Linked DNA regions of Homo sapiens: region 2 is linked to region 1. Evidence: promoter capture Hi-C in human tissues and cell types (Jung and others, 2019). All regions are on one chromosome and are shown on one strand. The core of a region is centred on a gene start or on the middle of the fragment in contact, and the rest is flanking DNA. Distances in the headings are between cores, read along the strand shown.

Region 1 (3,872 bases), core at 699-3,198:
GTCATGAATGACCCCACACAATCAATCAATCAATCAATAAAAACTGATCTCAGCTGGGAGCAGTGGCTCAGGCCTGTAATCCCAGAATTTTGGGAGGCTGAGGCAGGTGGATCACTTGAGGCCAGGAGTTGGAGACCAGCCTGGCCAATATGGTGGAACCCCATCTCCACCAAAAATACAAAAATTGGCCGGGCACAGTGGAGGCGCCTGTAATCCCAGCTACTGGGGAGGCTAAGGCAGGAGAATTGCTTGAACCTGGGAGGTGGAGGTTGCAGTGAGCCAAGGTTGCACCACCACACTCCAGCCTGGGCGACAGAGCAAGAACCTGTCTCAAAAAAAAAAAAAAAACAAAAAAAAACTGGTCTCTAATCATCTTCTAGTGTTCCCTATCCAGCTTGAGGGATTCCGTGATAGTGAGTGAATGGTACCACCATCTATTCAACTACATAAGCCAGAAACCTAGGAGTTACCTTTGATTCCTCTCTTCACTCCCTAAAATCAACCCATCACCAAGTCCCACCCATTTTACCTCCTATATACCTCTAGAATCTGTCCAATTCTCTGCAGTTCCACCCATATCTCAGTCCTCACTGACATCTCTGACCAGGATTACTGCATATCCCAAGTGGTCCACATACATCGACTAGGGCTTCCCCAACCCCCGTCTGTTCACACCACTGAGCCTGAGGGATCAAGTCCCCTCCTCCACCACACCCCACTGGGGGAAGACGGCTCAGTGGTATCTCATCCGTTTTAAAATAAAAGCTACAAATTCCTGCAAGGTCTGACCGCTATCACGTACAGCTTCATCTTGTACCATACTCCCTTCATTCTCTTTGTACCAGCCACACTGGCTCTTTGTGCTTTTAGTCATTTTCCTCCCAAGTGCCTCAGGGCTCTGAACAAGTAGTTCTCTATGGAAGGTTCTGCCTTCACTTCTTCACCTAATTAATTACAACACTTCCTGCAGCTACCAGCGCAGGCATCTTTTCCTCTGAAAAACCTTCCTGCTTATTTCAGGCACTCATAGCATCAGGCAGCAGTAGGAGGCATTTCCATGTATTAGTGAGGTCATTGTTTAACGTTTTCCCCACCAGAGTTAAACGCCCTGAGAGTAGGGACCGTGCCCGGTTCACAACATACCCCCAACGCGCTGCTAAATGAATATCAGCAGGACGACTGAGGCAATGACCACGTTCATGGGCATGAGTCTCAAATTTCTCAACAAGACTGTGCTCTGGAGAAGGAGTCGGACATTTCCTTCATCACTGTCTCTCTCAGGGGGGCATACAGTAGGCCCTGATCAAAAACTGCAAAATCAGTGGCAGAAACAAGTCAGCCTCCTCGGCCAAATGGGGCACCGGAGGAGGCTGGGACGCAGGCCTTTCTCCCTGGGAATGCCCGGCACAGGACTGGCCACGATGGGCGCTCTTGAAGAAGGGAGCCGCAGGGGCTGGGTCTTGCCGCCAGAGACCCCAAGGCTCCGCTCCTGCCCCGAAAGGGAGCCCAGGCTACTACTTACCACAGCTGGGGACTCGGGGCCCGCCTCCCACCCCTTGCTGTCAGCACCCTCAGCTGAGAAGGGCAGGTTCAGACTGCACAACCGAGGCGTCGCCTCCAGACTCAGGCAGCCACCCACCCCGTTCTTCCTCATACGTACTAGGCGTCAGCTCCAGGTCCCCGAGTCGCTGCGCTGAACTAAACGCCGACCCCAGTCAGCCAGCGCGTTTCCACCCACAAGACCCAGCGCGCCTAGGGCGGTCGCCAGCTCCGTCCACCAATCCTGGTATCGCACTCTCATGACGTCAGAAAGATATGCCCAATAACAAGAGACTATCCGAGGGCGGTGCAAATGGAAATATTGAAAGCCGATTGGTTCTTCCAAGCTGGAAGTTGTGGAGGAAGGACTAATTTGGAACCAATTGCGTGGCGCCTGAGAGCGGCAGCGCGGTCAGTGGCGGCGCTGAAGAGACCGGTTGCCGCCATGATAGAACAGCAGAAGCGTAAGGGCCCAGAGTTGCCGCTGGTTCCAGTCAAGCGGCAGCGGCATGAGTTGCTGTTGGGAGCGGGGTCTGGCCCAGGAGCCGGGCAGCAGCAGGCGACGCCGGGAGCCTTGCTGCAAGCGGTAAGTGAAGAAGCAGGCGGCCTTTGGCCCTCAGCTCATCTTCCTCCCCTCAGAGCGCTGTATCTGGTGATCCCTGACCCTTTCCCGCATTGCGGGGGCAGAACGAGAGTTTCTACGCAGAGTTAAAGCACATAAACACTGTAAAAGCTCCCCATAGCCTGCGAATGCTGCGTACGTGTTCCCCCGTTTGGCGCCCGTTTTCAGCCTCTCGACTGCCCTGAGATAGCATTAGAATTAGAGTTGAGGACCTTGGGCTCAAAACCCTGACCCGGGTTTAAGCATCCTGACTCTAACATGGATCTGGCATAGAACAAAAATTCCGAAGAGTGTGTAGAATGAATGAATGAGGGAGGGAAGAAAAAAGGGAAATGATTTGTGTTGGCTCGTTTTGGGACTTTGGGCAAGTTGCTTTTCCCTTTATTTCTCTGCACTAGTATTATTAACAACTAAATAGCAGCTAACATTCATTGACTCTTGTACTAAAGTGTTTCGTATATGAAATTTCCATTGATCTTGGTAGCAGCCTGTTAGGAACGTTATTAACCCATTTTGCAGATGGAAAAACAGACTTACCAAGTACGTGATAGAAGCAGATTTCGAACTGAGAAACCATGCTCCTAACTACATTTTTTGTAAGATAGAAATAGTGATCACACTTCTAATGTCCTGTTTAGGCTCAGACGAGGAAATACGAGTGTCCTCACATCTCCTCAATAAATCCTGCTGGCACCGTCCTCAAAATAGGTCTAGAATTGCTACTTCTACCATCTCCATCATTGCCTCATGGCCTAAGCCATTATTATCTCATCTGGCATTTTTGTAGTGGGACCCTAACTGGTCTTCCACTTTCTACCTTTGTATCAGCACCTGTTACCAAGCCAATAACCAAAGGAATCCTTCTAAACATCAGATCACATTACACTCTGCAGAAAACTTTCTGGTGGCTTTGTACTTCATCCAGAGTAAAAACCAAAATTCTTGTAATTATTTGCCCTCTTTCCCTTTACCTCTCTGACCAATTTCTTATTGCTCACCTGGCTTCAGTTACTCTCTCTTCCAAGCCTCTGCTTCAGGACCTTTGCATTTGCTGTCCTCTCTGTGGGATTGCTCTTCACAAATGTTTACATGGTTTACTATTCAGCTCCTGCGAATATTTGCCCAAATGTAATTTTTTCAGTGAGGATTTTCCTGACCACCCTATTTTAAATTGCAGTACCACATACTGTGGAACCCACATTGCTTCTCTCTCTCTCTTTTTTTGTTTTTTTGTTTTTAGACAATCTCTCTGTGTTGACCACTGGCTCAGTACAGCCTCCACCACCTGGGCTCAAGTGATCCTCCTGCCTCAGCCTCCTGAGTAGCTGGGACCACAGACACACACCACCACATCTAACTAATTGTATTTTTTTGTAGAGACAGGATTTCACTCCTGAGCTCAAGCAATCCGCACACCTTGGCCTCCCAAAATGCTGAGATTACAGGCATGAGCCACCATCCCCATCCCTTCTTTTGCTCTATAGCACATGACACCACATATATAGTTTGCTTGTTTTCTCTCACCTTCCCTTCTCCCTTCCCCCTTTCCCACTGGAACAGCGAGCTCCATTGTTTATTTTGTTCATTGCTGTTTGCCCAGTGCCTAGCACGTAACTTCTTTTTTTTTTTTTTAAGATGGAATTTTGCTCTTGTCACCCAGGCTGGAGTGGAGTGGCGCAATCTCGGTGCACCGCAACCTCCGCCACCCGGG
Region 2 (3,872 bases), core at 858-3,357, 290 kb after region 1:
GCTTGTGTATCTTTTTTGTAGATCATTCAGTTTCCCAGCCAATCATGGTGCAGAGAAGACCTGGTCAGAGTTTCCATGTGAACAGTGAGGTCAATTCTGTACTGTCCCCACGATCGGAGAGTGGGGGACTAGGCGTTAGCATGGTGGAGTATGTGTTGAGCTCATCCCCGGGCGATTCCTGTCTAAGAAAAGGAGGATTTGTAAGTTGGCTTGAGGAACTTGTTCCTATCTCTCTCTCTCTCTCTCTCTCTCTCTCTCTCTTTTTTTCCCCTAAAGCAAAACATGCCTGTTTAGTTTCCTTAGATGTTCACAGCATTAATTACAGGGTATTTTCAAACAACGTTTGTTGTAAATAGAACTCAGCAAACATAGTAGGAGATGTAAACTCAACTTTTAAAAACTAAAGTAATAATGTTTTGGTGGGGGGACACATTGATAGTATTGTGAGATAAGAACTGAAATCTGGATCAAAGTTCATTGGTCTATCAGAAAACACCATTTTTACTTTAAAATAAAAGCAAAAGGGGGGTGGTGAAGGAATTAAAAAAATAAAGCTGATGCTGGGATGTTAACAGGGAATTCCAGATTTGAGAGCAGTGATTTGCCAATACCCGAGAAACCTTAATATAGATCAGATTATAGGGCTATTCTTGTTTTGTTAGCTACGATTTAATTATAGAATCCTCTTTGGCCCTCCTTGAACGGCTTTGTTTCTCACACCTGGCCTGTCAAGAAATTAGGGATTCTGTTAATTCTTTCTTACAAATTTTTTTGATTCATTATCACTGACCTCTCTGATGCTAAACTGAAGTCAAATAAGTCTCTGTGTCTATAGCCTTTTTCTTTTTAAGTCTTAAGCATTTTTCTATGAGCATCTGTGATAGCCTTTCTCAAAACAATTTCTTTCTTTATCATTAACTTTCTAGATCGAGAAGTGTTAAGATGTATTTCCATTTGAGTCTTCCTCATTTTGAATTCTGCGACTGTTGTCATATTCCAGGTCACAGACAGGAAGGCCATGAGAGGCACATGAATCTTCTTCCCTCCCTTTCTCCTGTCTAAACTTGTTTTGTACTTTTTCAAAGACATTTCTCCCTGCAGTCATTTTGGGCTGATATCACCTGAAAACAGTCATTTAAAAGATTTTAATGTAATTTGTGGGAAAGAACAGCAGAAGCACCTTCTTTCCCACAAATTGAGAATTAATATTATAACTGTCTTTCTTTAATAGCATTTGTTGCTCAGTATTTCTTAGTGTTATACATCTTTTGCTGGGTATCAGAGGCTTGGTCCTATTTTCCCTATTCCACATTAAATTTTGTTAGAGTAACAGTAGTTCATTTTTGGTGCAGCTTTCTCAAGTGTCAAGTACAGTTCTTAAGTACTAGCTATTCTAAAGCTGACCTGATTGCTTTTCAGTGTTTTGACCCTGCAGAGACCTAGGTCAGGTTTAGTAGCTTGTGAATCAGATAGGAGATGGCTCCTGTTATTTGAACCTTCCCAAGGGGCTGCTTGGGAAGAACAAGATCTACCCTTTGGATGTGAGTTACTTCTCTTTCTTCACCCTATCCCCAGCTCACCTCTTTTTCTGTCCTCACTCTTTCCTCATCTTATGAGCACAGATTCCTCAGCAGAAATTAGTGTTGTGCATCAGTAGGTTGCTAGTGTGGTGAACTGGAACCTGTGACTCTAGCTGTGAATTCTCTGTCATGTGTGTGATCAGTTTCTAATTCTTGGGCACTAACCAGGAGGCATGTGCCTGCATTACTGTGAAGCTTGTAGGAGGCAGAAAAATAGTTGGAATTAGGAGGAAGATACATGGTGGGATTGAATCATTTTGCCACTTATTTTTCTCTCTTTAAACAGTCATCTCACTAGACGGTTATTTTGATGACAAAAGCTGTATCATTTGTCTTGGGAGACTGGTGATTTACCTCTTTTACAAAAGAATCGTGACAGAGGAGGTTAAGACTTCAGGCTAGATAGATGGGGCCAGAAGATTGGACTTTAACCATCAAGATAATTTACTGAGCTGCTGAGGTATGCATAAAGATAAATGAAAATTCTGAAGTATGCATGAAGATAAATGAAAATTCTCCAAATCTGTGTTCCAGCTTCTTTTAGAAGGAAGATTGTGGGTAATGGAATATTATCCCATAGTTTGACTTAGATTGCATCTATAGAGTGATACAAGAGGACTGATCTAGTGACATCAAGCCACTTGTTGGCATATACAGTCTTCTGGTGGATGGAGACCTGTGGCTCAGTGAACTGATTATTATTGTTATTATTATTGAGGTGGAGTTTCACTCTTGTCGCCCAGACTGGAGTGCAATGGCATGATCTTGGCTCATCGCAACCTCCACTTCCAGGGTTCAAACGATTCTCCTGCCTTAGCCTCCTGAGTAGCTGAGATTACAGATGCCTGCCACCATGCCCGGGTAATTTTTGTATTTTTAGTAGAGATCCGGTTTCCCCATGTTGGCCAGGCTGGTCTCAAACTCCTGACCTCAGGTGATCTTCCCACCTCAGCCTCCCAAAGTGCTGGGATTACAAGCGTGAGCCACCGCGCCCGGCCAGTGAACTGATTATCAGCTTTGTGGTTGTATCCTCTTGATTTTATACCTAACCTGACTTTGCTCTGCCTGTTGGTCAGGATGACACCTGACCAAAGCTCTTTTTGTGGAAGCCTGAATCACTTTATTTTTGTCATAGTATGCATACATCTTCTTGAGGAAAGTGAGCCTTTTCTTTTAAAGTCTAGTCTGTCATTTAAAGTGTTGAATTCAGAGAACCAGGAAGATAGGATTTCTGCTTCTTGTAGATAATTGTTCTAAAGGAGGAGTGGTACTTGGTAGTGTATGGGGTCAGGGCATCCACGTATTTTTACTTTTGGGGTAGCTGTATCAACATTAATTCCAGTAAGCCTCACTTTAATCCTGAGAGCTGAAAGCATCATCTCTGATGGTATAGTGATTGTAGACCTCAAAGCAAGTAACTAAGAAGTTATTCTTAACACACTGACAACAGATAATTGAGACTTTAACTTTTCAGGTAAAGGTGTTTAGAACTAAAATAAATCTCTATGTAGTGTTTTACCATTTTCAGTGAACTTTGCTGGTTATGGCTAGATTGAAGCTGTTTAGCTCTTTGTCTAGCTTGAATTCATTTTGATTGTACAAATGGTCTCAGTTTAGTGGTTTTGGCTTCTGTGATAAGAATACATTCTGGCTAACAAGAAGAATCTGGCAACCATATTTTGTTCTGAGCATTCACTGTAAATTTTTGGTAGTATTCCACATAGGAATCTCAAACTTTAGGAGAGCAGCTTTCAGAATAATAGAGCTCAAAAATATCAATCAAGTCTTTTATTTTTCTTTTCTTTTGTATCCTTTATTTATTCTTGGAGTAGAACAGGTGCTCACCCCACAGCCCCCCATGGTTCAGGGTGGTTACAAAATCAGATGTAATTATTTTATTTTTGAGGCCCATGGGTGAGATTGCCATCTAAGGACCCTGCTCTCTGGAATACCAGCTGATCTTTTTCAAATAGGTGGAAGCCTAGCCAGCCAAAAAATGGATCATGATTTCTACCTTGCTGGTTTATGGTGCCCAGGGAAATGAGAAGATCACTCTAAACTTTGATTAGGGTAATGACCACCTTAACCTCACAGAAGAAAGATTTTTAGAAAAAATATATTGGGAAGGTCTTTCTGTTTGTTCTGTAGAGAGTATCTGCTTTTTGATCTGGAGGATGTATACACATTCGTAGTATACATCTATTTGGGCCGTGAAACTTGTTTGTCTAGGTTTCACTGCATTTACTTTAGGTAACCAGTGCTACTTAACTTTCATAGGTTTTGTTTGAAAAC

What was found. The method cuts DNA at HindIII sites, captures the fragments that hold promoters and counts their contacts. A contact is called where the count stands out against the background at its distance.
Region 2: a contact is called between a fragment that was not itself captured here and the fragment with the promoter of SNRNP40 in region 1, in 1 of the 25 tissues and cell types used here (adrenal gland).

Annotation. Positions count from the first base shown.
Region 1 is chr1:31,294,864-31,298,735 of GRCh38, reverse strand. SNRNP40 (small nuclear ribonucleoprotein U5 subunit 40) reads left to right here and starts at 1,948. Exons shown (of 10, transcript NM_004814.3): 1 at 1,948-2,125. The coding sequence starts at 1,985. ZCCHC17 (zinc finger CCHC-type containing 17) reads right to left here and starts at 1,704. Exons shown (of 8, transcript NM_016505.4): 1 at 1,661-1,704. RefSeq lists an enhancer at 1,970-2,179. The HindIII fragment of the contact is 16,238 bases long and covers 1-3,872 here.
Region 2 is chr1:31,002,181-31,006,052 of GRCh38, reverse strand. It overlaps PUM1 (pumilio RNA binding family member 1), which reads left to right. Exons shown (of 22, transcript NM_001020658.2): 5 at 22-200. Among named protein-coding and RNA genes, the nearest start is that of SNORD103C, 36 kb to the right of the region's middle. The HindIII fragment of the contact is 7,138 bases long and covers 1-3,872 here.